Linked DNA regions of Homo sapiens: region 2 is linked to region 1. The links are contacts of gene promoters, found by promoter capture Hi-C in blood cells and fetal thymus (Javierre and others, 2016). All regions are on one chromosome and are shown on one strand. Each heading gives the region's core, a stretch centred on a gene start or on the middle of the fragment in contact. The rest is flanking DNA. Distances are from core to core; before and after follow the strand shown. Region 1 holds the start of LATS1 (large tumor suppressor kinase 1). Region 2 overlaps UST (uronyl 2-sulfotransferase).

The links. The method cuts DNA at HindIII sites, captures the fragments that hold promoters and counts their contacts. A CHiCAGO score of 5 or more calls a contact.
Region 2: a contact is called between a fragment that was not itself captured here and the fragment with the promoter of LATS1 in region 1, in 2 of 17 cell types (naive CD4 T cells and naive CD8 T cells). The highest score is 8.7, in naive CD4 T cells.

Annotation. Positions count from the first base shown.
Region 1 is chr6:149,715,791-149,721,431 of GRCh38, reverse strand. LATS1 (large tumor suppressor kinase 1) reads left to right here and starts at 3,331. Exons shown (of 8, transcript NM_004690.4): 1 at 3,331-3,583. LOC645967 (a long non-coding RNA gene) reads right to left here and starts at 3,811. Exons shown (of 1, transcript NR_134652.1): 1 at 2,536-3,811. RefSeq lists a silencer at 3,452-3,841. The HindIII fragment of the contact is 4,826 bases long and covers 1-4,588 here.
Region 2 is chr6:149,061,274-149,066,914 of GRCh38, reverse strand. All of the region lies in intron 7 of UST (uronyl 2-sulfotransferase), which reads right to left. Among named protein-coding and RNA genes, the nearest start is that of UST-AS2, 31 kb to the right of the region's middle. RefSeq lists enhancers at 514-923, 944-1,023. The HindIII fragment of the contact is 4,566 bases long and covers 218-4,783 here.

The DNA of each region.
Region 1 (5,641 bases), core at 2,082-4,581:
AAATACAAAATTAGCCAGGCATGGTGGCGCATGCCTGTAATCCCAGCTTCTCAGGGAGGCTGAGGCAGAAGAATTGCTTGAACCCAGCAGGCGGAGGTTGCGGTGAGCAGAGATGGCGCCACTGTACTCCAGCCTGGGCAACAAGAGAAACTTGGTCTCAAAAAAAAAAAAAGTTGGACATGGTGGCCTGCGCCTGTAATCCCAAGTTACTTGGATGCTGAGGCATCACCTGAGTCCCGGGGGTTGAGGCTGCAGTGAGCCATAATCATGTCACTGCACTTCAACCAGGGTGACACAGTGAGACCCCATCTAAAAAAAAAAAAAAAAAAAAAAAAAAAGATTTTGGAACATAATGTACTGCCAGAAAAGAAGAAAGTTCTTTTTTTTTTTTTTTTTTTTTTTTTTAGGTGAGGTCTTGCTTTGTCACCCAGGCTGGAGTGCAGTGGCTAGATCTCGGCTCACTGCAGCCTCAGCCTCCTGAGCTCAGGCGATCCTTCTGCCTCAGCCTCCTGAGTAGCTGGGACTACAGTTGTGTACCACCACACCTGGCTGATTTATAGAGATGAGGTCTTGCTATGTTACCCAGGCTGGTCTTGAACTCTTGGGCCCAAGTGATCCTCCTGCCTCAGCCTCCAGAAGTACTGGGATTAAAAAGTGCTGGGATTAAAGGGGTGAGCCACCAAACTGGGCAGAAAGTTCTTTAAAACACACACACACACACACACACACACACACACACACGCCAACTGAAAGAGCTCCAGTGGCCAAAACTGAAACAACTTGAGCAACAAAATAAATACCCAAAGCATAAAATAAATATCCATGAGGCCATACTGACATAACGAGTTTTTGTTTTGTTTATGTTTTTGCTTTTTGTTTTTTTTGTAAGACAGTCTTGCTCTGTCACCCAGACTAGAGTGCAGTAGCACAGTCTCGGCTCACTGCAACCTCCACCTCCTGAGTTCAAGCGATTCTCCTGCCTCAGCCTCCCAAGTAGCTGGGACTATAGGCATGCGCCCACCACGCCCAGCCAATTTTTTTTATTTTTAGTAGAGACGAGGTTTCACCATGTTGGCCAGACTGGTCTGGAACTCCTGACCTCAAGTGATCCGCCTGCCTCGGCCTCCCAAAGTGCTAGGATTATAGGTGTGAGCCACCACACCCGGCCAATAAATGTTTGAATAAATAAAGGAGAAGGGATAAATCTGCAGAATGTCAAATAATTTATTTGAATTCTCCACTTTATTTATTTTATTTATTTATTTTTTGGGGACAGAGTCTGGCTGGATTCTCCACTTTCAAGAAGATGGAGCACAACTCCCCATTCCTTAAGAGTGGGTGGCACATAGTCTGGTGTCTTCCCCTAAGATCGTATGAATTTCTGGAAGGGTTTATGTTCTCAGGGCCACACTGGTCTCCAGACTTCTTCCATGTACACTGCCCCCTAATTCCTTTCTAAGGTCACACAAGCATGAAATCGGATTCTACATCTATTGCTAAAAACAAGCCCCATTTCCATGAAGCACTGAAGAATTGAGTAGGCTGAAACTGGACCAAGATCTTCCATCACAATAATATAAAAACCTGCAAATGTGATGGCAGGTATCACCATTCCCACACATCCAGCACCCACAGTAAGTATTTCCCCAACCATCATCACTCTCCGCACCTACAGTCCCCAATGCTTTGCATCTCGTCAGTTCTCTTCCTGATCATTCCACCTCTGCTTTCCCTGCTCTTTTATCTCTCGCCCTACTTCACAGGAGTAAGCCTCCTAGTCCTACACAGAGCAATTTACTCAGCTCCCTGAATTATCTAGGAATTTCCCCAAAGACTAGAGTTTGTGGAGATACTTTCCTTTAGGTTTAGAGAGCATTGAGGAGCTTAAGTACCATGGGTTGATGACAGACGTGACAGGATTCTGGGGGCAGTCTGCCCTTCCAGATGCATAATCCTTTTGGATAGGGCAAGCAGACCTGTGGACATATTAGATTCCTATAATTCATATAATTTTAGGGCTGAAAAGGTCTTTATGGGGCACCCTTACGTTGAAGAAAGTAAGCCCTGGGGCTCTTTAGTGACCCACCTTGGGTCACATTGCCTTCTACAAACTCTGTGCTTGTAGAAAATAGACTTTCAACCAAATGTTCTTGGAACATAATCTTTTTTTTTTTTTTTTTTTTTTTGAGACGGAGTCTCGCTCTGTCGTCCAGGCTGGAGTGCGGTGGCGCGATCTCGGCTCAATGCAAGCTCCGCCTCCCGGGTTCCTGCCATTCTCCTGCCTCAGCCTCCCGAGTAGCTAGGACTACAGGCGCCCGCCACCACGCCGGGCAAATTTTTCTGGATTTTTTAGCAGAGACGGGGTTTCACCGTGTTAGGCAGGATGTTCTCGATCTCCTGACCTCGTGATCCGCCCGCCTCGGCCTCCCAAAGTGCTGGGATTACAGGCGTGAGACACCGCGCCCGTCCGGAACATAATCTTTTAACGGGTTTTCACATTTGGATTTCTAGATACAGTAAGTAGCCAGTTATTACTTTAACGTCAGAAAAAGATGTCTTTAATTTTTTTGTACTCTGTAGTAGAAAAATTACGAAAGAAGGTACTTGAAAACACTAACTGTATATTTCCTAGAGGAAAAACTGGCAAAGGCGATCTTCACAAAGGGTGGACCGTACCTTATACATCAAACCCAACGATCCCATCCCACACTTTACATTCAGCTTAACCAGAAGTAAAACCTCTTGTCACACCGTCACCGGTATTCCAATTATGGCAATAACGATCTCCTTCTACGGATGCGGTTGACAGATAAGATCTCTAAACCGCTGCTAATCAATCGGTCCTGGCTCAAGCATTTCTTATCTGCCGGATTCAGAAAATACAGATGCTGGAAGCTCACCGGCTTGTTCGGGGAAAGAACGCTAAGCAAGAATAAAATTTTATTTCAAAGCGCCAAAAATCTGGAATTCTGAGGTCCACAGGGAGGTTTCCCAGAGCAACTCAGTTGTTCCCTTCTGAGAACGTAGCTCCGTGAAATGCACATCCCTACTCGGTCCAGAGAAATAGATCAATGGGGAAAAGGATTGAATCAACCAAGTAGGCTGGGCGGGAGACAGCCTTAACCCACGGGCGCGGGCGAGTCGTATGGGCAGGGGCAGGCGGGAGCGACGTGGGGCGACGCTCACGAACGATCAGAGCTGCGGGCGACGCAACGAAGCCCGGAGGCCGCAGGCTGCGCGCTCCCTCGCAGCAGCCGGGCGGGCAAAAGCCCCCAGTCCTCGGCCCCCGCGCAAGCGACGCCGGGAAATGCCCACATCCGGGAAACCTGCAGCGGAGTGCGGCGGCGGCGACACTGAGTGGAAGGCAAAATGGCGGCGGCGGCGGCGGTGGCCTGGTGTTAAGGGGAGAGCCAGGTCCTCACGACCCCTGGGACGGGCCGCGCTGGCCCGCGGCAGCCCCCCCGTTCGTCTCCCCGCTCTGCCCCACCAGGGATACTTGGGGTTGCTGGGACGGACTCTGGCCGCCTCAGCGTCCGCCCTCAGGCCCGTGGCCGCTGTCCAGGAGCTCTGCTCTCCCCTCCAGGTAGGTCCGGGGCTGGCGTAGCGGGTGCGCTCCTCCAGTGCTCGAGTTGGCGGGGCGGTGGCCGCCGGGGCCCACGCCCATCCCCGCTGGCGAGGGTCCAGAGGTTTGGACTGGCGGGCAGAGCCGGCCCGCTCCGGGCCTGACTTGGCTGGTTGCATTGACCCGAGCTGAGCCCTGCCCTGGGGAAGCGAGGGTTGGCCGCGCCCGGTGCTGCAGGAAGAGCCCCAGGCTTTTCGGCCTCGGAGGTGCAGGTTTGGCTGGGTAGAGCCTGTCTTTCTGGCGGCGTGTCTCCCACCCCACCCCCAACACGCGAGTCGGCGGTGTCCAGGAGGGAAGGAACGGGAAAGGTGGTTCTGAAGGAAAATTGCAGTAAAAGAGCTACAGTTCTTTGGATCCCAGAGGGCCTTGATCCTGGGTATACCTTAGAGAAATCCTGGGAGTCTCTTACGTCTAGTTCAGTGTGATTTTAGGTTACTGTTCATAGTTGGAAGAGGTGGGAGAGATGGAGAGGTCTTTATGGAGTAGGAGTGTGTATATAAATACAGCAAATGAAGGAACGACAATTAAGGGAACAGTGTTTTTTATAACCTGAAATAGCTTGTAGCTCAATGAATGCCTCAGATGACTTGATTTATCCCCATTCTGACTTCTCTGTCAATTTCTAAGGGAACAAAATTTAATGTTTGTCAACTCATATGTTAATACGGCTTTTAAAACATGTATCATCCTCCAGAAGTTATTCATAAATCTAGTGAACAATAAGTATAATCTCATGCACAGAAGTAATATTGTATAACTCCAGTTTTGGAAATGGATTTGAATGTTAGCGATCATGAAACTTGTTTGAACTTTATGAATTATTTATTGAAGGTTAATAAATTTATCAGTTTATCAGTTTATCAGAAGTTTCTGATAAACTTAATTTTTTATCAAATTTCCTCCATGAGGAAGAAAAGGTAGGACATTATAATTGGAGTGAATGTTCTGTGCTACGAAAACAAAGCTTATTATCTCTGACGGTAAAATGGGGTAGTTGATTCCTTAAGGCAGTGGAGGAATTTGATTGAACAGTAAAAGAAGTAGCATTGTGTTAGTCCAATTGGCTGCTACTGCAAGAAACTAGATCATGGTCCATGCTTGGAATGGCACATTCTATGCCTAAATATTGATGGAATATGCCTTGCTGCTCACCAAAAAATACTTCTACTACATTTTTAATGTATAATATCTGGCTTTCATTGTGTAGGTCGTTTTTATTTTTGTTTTGTTTTTATTGCAAGTCCTTGTTCTATATAAATAGTGTTGGAACTGTTCTAACCCTGGTTATTTGGTTATTTTAGATGTTTTATTTACATCAATGGGAGATTGTTATACATCACAAAAGTTATTTAGTCATTGAATAACATTTTCGCTAAGTAGGAACAGCAATCATTTTTCAGCATGAAGATACAGCGTTGCTTTCACTTTTGATCTGACAATTATTAGAAAGTGAACTGAAGAAAATGTCAGTATGCAGTTTCCTTTAAAGATGGGAACTCGCTATGTTGCCTGCGCTGGATTCCAACTCCTGGACTCGAGCAATCCTCCCACCACAGCCTCTCAAGTAGCTGGGACTACAGGTGCACTACTGCACCCAGCCAGGGTACCTTTCTGATAAACTTAATTCAACCCAAATTAACACTTTGAAATCTTATGTAATGGTATCATTTTTTTTTTCCTAAGTTGGACAAACTAATCAATGATACTTGTTTGTTGATGTTTGTATTTTTGATGAGGGTCTGAACTTTAAAAAAAAAAAAATGGCGATCTGTCATACCCAGGCAGTTTGATTCCAGAGCTCTTACTTTAACCATGAGATTAAAGTCATTGAAAGTTATGGGGTAGGTAGGTGACATGATCAGAATTGTTTATTAAGACGAATCTGGCCCCATCGTAGTGTGGGTTAAAAAGGTAAGCAGTTTTGCTTTGAAGAATTATTTTAAAAATTCTTTTTGCCTAGTAATAATTTGAATTTTCACATGTCATAGCAGCAAAGATTGTTGAGATTTAGTAATGCCA
Region 2 (5,641 bases), core at 1,251-3,750, 650 kb after region 1:
TCTGTTGCCCAGGCTAGAGTGCAGTGGTGGCTCACTGCAGCCTCAAACTCCTGGGCTCAAGCGATCCTCCCCTCAACCTCCTGAGTATTTGGGACTACAGGAGTGAGCTACCATGCTCAGTTTCATGCATATTAATAAATTTTATTCCTTTTTTTCCTGTTAATCTGCCTATTGTAAGTTCATTTTCAAGTAAGCTTCAGAGGGTGGAGGAGAAGCTTTTCCTGTTACCCCTCCAATAACAACAGATTGTCTCGTGTATTTCAGTTACTTCAGTCTTCCTTACTCTTCTTAATCCCTCCCTAAATCCCCCGTCTAAACATGAGGGTCAGTATCAGCTGGTTTGGCAGATTCTTATGGGATCTAATGTTTCCCCAAGCTCTAGTTTTGCATTAATATCCAATTCTTGCTTCATTTGTCTACCCACCCTGCCTCCTTGGAGTTTCCTTCTCTCCCTCATCCACCCCCTCTTCTTCATTGTCAACCTCTCCCTCTCAACTGGCTCCTTGCCATCAAAACTCACTTCCCTTCTTGAAAAAACCCTTGTCTCATGCACCCTCCCTCTTTCATCTTTTCTCTCTCCTCCCCATCACAGCCCAACTTCCTGAAGAGCTGTCTACATTTGTTGTAACATTTTCAGCTTACGTACGTGACTGAACTCACCAAAACCTGCTTTCTGTTCCTTCTGTACTCCATTCAGTTACTCTCGCTTCCTTGTTGGTAGCTCAGAGGGCGCCTCACAGCATGACCCCATCACACTGTGGGCCACACACTCCATTTTGAAACCCCTGCATCTGCAACAGTGTTTTCCTGGCACCCTCACCTCTCTCTGATCACTCCCTTTCCATCTTCTCTACGCCCTCCTCTTTCCCAGCCTGTCTTATAAAGACCAGTCCTCCTCAGGCTCTGTTCCAGCCTCTTCCCTTCTCCCTGGTTACTCCCTGGGTGGCAGCATCCAACCCTCTATCCTTTAGTCCTCATAGCACTGTGAACAACAAAATGAACAGTTTATATAAACAATGACAGCTTTTTTGACCTTCGTTTTCCACAGAGCTGCCAAATTTAATAAGGTTAATGACATTGCCAGAGGGTTATGTCGCGGTCAGAAACAGGAGTGCTATTTTGTGCCAGGAGAAACAGAGACTCAGATTCAACCAATATTGATGGGGAACACCCATTATGAGTTTGGATCATCATATACATTATTTTATTTGATATTCTCAATAACCCTGTGAGGTGAATATCATGACCCCTCTTTTGCAGATGGAGAAATAGAAACTTACCCAAGGTCACATAGCTGGCTGGTAAGTGAAAAAACGAATTTGAATCTGGGTCCCCATCTATGTTGAGATTTTTCCCTAACTTTAAGTACTGCACCATAACCAGGGCAGCTTTCATGAGCCTGTAGAAAACTATCACCTTCATATGGAAAGACCAGAGGTGGTTTGTCTTGTATAATAAGCAGAGAATTCTTAAAAATCTCATTTCAAAGACATATGGATGTGTGTCTTGCTGTACGATAATCGGTGCTATGGAAAAGTCATTCCATTGCTAAGTTTTCCACATTTTTGTAAAATGCCAGACTTTCCATCCAAACAAAACAAAGCTACATGGACTATGGAATCAGCCTCTCTCCAGACTGCCATAATAGCAGCTCTAGAGGAAGTTGTTAGGATTTTTTTTCAAATAATTGTTGTTATTTCAGCCACAAAACAATTATGCTTTAAAAATCTATACTTATTAGTAGCATTCCTTGGGAAGGGAAGAAGCCCTCGTTAGGTGAGCACATACTGTCGGATTAACCATGAAGAAGTGAAGACCTCACTCCATGAGCGTTCTCTGATCCTAGCAGGAACTGAGAGTAACTTCAAGGGGCTCATGTCTCTTGTGCCCACTGATAAACATTTTAAAAGAAAGAGACGAATACAGAGCTCCTCCCTTTAAGACAGGGTGGCAAAAAGGCAGCCCAAGATCGGACTGGCAGGCAATGTGTTGTTTGGCCCGTGGGGTATTTTTTTTTTTTTAGAAATGGATTCAGTTGTTGTAAGGCTTGGTCTATTTCACATGGAAAGCTGGATTTCTGGCTTTTCTCAAAGGGCGGCTACATTCTTCTGGAGCCAAGTGTGACTGCCCCCGTGAAAGAGGCCAGGGCTTTCCAGTTTGCCTCAGACTCTAAATGCCGGTTCATTCTTTTATGTTACCTGACTGGCTGTTATAGAAAGTCGAGTTTTATGCTTCTGCTTTAAAGATTCTAAAATTCAGGCTTTCATAAACCTAGAGAGTAAGTGCTTCTCGTCAAAATCAAGGCTTCAATTAGGCCTCACTGGTGTGCCCAATATCATCTTCCTTCCCTCTTTCTGCAAAGATTTGTTGAATAGCTATTCTGCACCACGCACAGGAATTGTTGCAGTGAATGGGGCATCATCATCATCACCATCATCATCATCATCAGTTGGCACTTTGAGAGCTTTCTCTGTGCCAAGAATTGTAAGATATCTAAACACACATTTAATCCTTATAAAGCTCCCAGTGCTGTAGAGGTCTCTTATTATCACCATTTAAAGCTGTGGCATTGGAATTTAGAAGTTTGTGCAGGCTCACACAGCTGGTAAGTGGTGAAGCCCGAAGTTGGGTGTGGGGAAGTCTGACTAATGAGCCCAGGTTCTTAACTCTCCACATTGCTGACGAGTGGATGGAGCTCACAGTCTAAGGGAGATGCCTGCTCACAAGGCTTGTCACCATGGGGGCAGAGAGGGCATCTCACTCTGATTCATTTGCTGGAGTCAACATTTCTTCTGTTTGGTCAGAAATCCTCACCAGGGAGACCAGGCTTATTGGGCTTATCTTAAATACTCTGCATGGAGTTGGGTCTTTCATACTTACTACAAGATCATGAAGATTTGCCGTATGTGCTGTGTGTGCACGTCTGAGAGTATAGATTCTGTGTGTGTTTCAATCAAGAGATGGAAAACTTTTAGGAGGCCTCTGAGGCACTATCCACCTCCTAAAAAATTTTCTCTAGATTTTATTCTTAACATCTCCACCAGGTTTCATTTAGCTGTTCTTCCAAAGAGGCTTTTTATACTGAGTGATCAGGACAAAAGCGATACCCCATTTATCTTTGTATTTCCACAGCTCAGCACCTGGGGAAACACAGTTCTCCTCTGTACAGGCTTCTTGAGGGAACAAAAGAAACCATCAGAAGGACGAGGGTGCTGTCAGATTCAAGGAAGGCTTGGCTGTGTCTGTGAGATGGAGACAGACAGCTGGGCACAAAGGCAGTATCTGAAGGAGTTTCACAGAAATTCCTAGGAGACCCACAAATGCTGGGTCCTTAGCGAGAAGCAGTCTACCCTCCCATCTGGCTGGGGTCTGTACATTTCAGTGTTTAACTTTGTGGTTTGGTTGCCTTTTGGGACCAATAGTGCTGGCAAGGCACATTTTTCTGCCTCTCTACTTTAATTCATCAATACTTTTTGGCAAAAAGAAGCTGTGGCTTCAGGATGTTTTTGATATTTTTTTAAAAAGTTTTTTCTTATTACCTTTAGGGATTGGTCAAATAATTCCCTTAGTTAATTTTATGATAACTATTGAAAATTTCCTCAAAATAGGCACTGGTTTTGAGCTATGAAGTGTTCAGAAGAGGGAAAACAAAGTAAAAAAACAAACTTTGAGCTTTCTATTTAAAGAACACAATAGAGATTGTTTTTTCTTTATAGACATGTCCAATCAGCCATAGAGTCAGGGCCACAGGGGGATAGACTTCCAGGCTCTGCGCTGTCCCTGGGGAGGGAGTGGCAGGGACACTACAGAGTAGTTACGGTCCTGAGTGGAGATTCTTCTAACAGCTGGCCCCCAGTGACATAAAAATCTGTAGTTGGCCACCCAATGTTGGTAGAGAATAAAACCTGGCATGAGGCCAGGAGGGGGCTGCTTTCTGTATTATTAAAACTTTACAAATAGTAGCCCGAACAGTGCAACTTCTCATACAAGTCCTGCAGAGAAGCACATCCCTCTCATTTTCATAGGGCTCTGTGGATTAATGCGCTTTCACATCGCCCCTCACTACCTTGCTCAATCTTCCCAGTACCCATTTTACTTACAGATACCAAGGGCCCCAGAGGTCACAAGACCAGCTCAAGGCTGTACAGCCAGGACATTTCAGTCCAAGCACTGGAAAGTGGGCTTTCTGATTCTCAGCCTTGCACCTTTTTGCTACACCACAGGCTGTTAATTTCCAAATTGAGTGGAAATCTATAACCACCCACTTCTCCTTGCCCTGTGTGTATTCTGGCATTCAGGGAATCCATTGAAAAGAAGGGCTTGAGTGTTCTAAGATGAGGGGAATGCTTTGGTAAGTCTGGGAGGATCTGGTGAAAAACTTGCAAGCCAGCAAAAATGTTTTCACACTGAAAGGGACTGTGTCTTTTTCATTTTTAGTTCCCCAGTGTCCAGCTCCATGCCTGGCACCTAACCACCCTCCATAAATGTTTGTTGATTTGAAACCTGTATTTTAAATCCATCTGCAAGACTGGATTAACCCAAAGGGCAACTTTCAGTGTTGACTATGCATACTTCACTTTTTAGCTAAATTCCTTCCTTAGTTGAGGGTCCTTCCTGAGCAAACTTTCCATTTCTGGAAATTGAATTTCTGGATAGTAGGCTGACAGAGAAGGTTTGGATCACAGGTTGTTCTGGAGAGGTAGTGGTATTTGCTTTTCTTAGCCACTCTGTTGAAGAACATTATGTTATGGTGACAGAACGCTTGCAAATACTTAGCCAAGCTTAAGACATGCCATGATAAGGAAGGTTCACCACAAACACAAATAGCTATGTAGAAGCCACCGTCTTGCAGCTAATGAATTTGTGCTGGGTGTGATATTTACCCCAGCCATTAACTGAAGATTCAAACACTGTTGGGTAAAAAGACATTTATTTGTGTGACCTGACTTTGCTGTATGAATGCTGGTCAGTTACTTAATTTGCCATCACTTTTGGTACTTTTTAGTGATGTTTCTCCATTAGCAAAATGAAAGTGTTTTATTTAGAAGGAAAACAGTCATTCAATCACATCCATTTGACCTATGTGCCAAGGACTTTGCTGTGGATACAATGTGAACTGTGGCTCTTTGGTCAGTCTTGAACACTTCCTGGTGGAAGAACTTAGCCCGGGCTTTTGGGAGTATCCACAGAAAGCTGGTGGCTCAGGGAAAAGGCTGCAGGGAAAAAGTTCTACTGGGACCTTGGAAACACATCTCTGCCCGGCACCAGGCACACCCATCTGCATGAAATGCATATGTCAGTGGATTGCACACAGATTCTGGTTTGCCAACTCAGGGGCTCCTCCCAATGCCCTGCCAAACAAACACTAGCTTAACTTCTGGATGTGAATGATAAATATCACTCGCCAGTAACCTGTCTGCATGCAAGACTGGGCAGTGACAAGCACGATGTGCTCACTGCCCAAGATTTTGCTTTGATTTTGTTTTACTGCCCAAGATCTGAACATTTTTTGCAAACATAGCAGCTTCTCTACCTCTGCTGCATTGACATATGTTTGAACTGGTTCATAATCTTCAGTACTCCTAAAAGTCCCTTTAATGTAAATAGAAAGGAAATCACAGACCTGTTCCTGGGAGTCCCA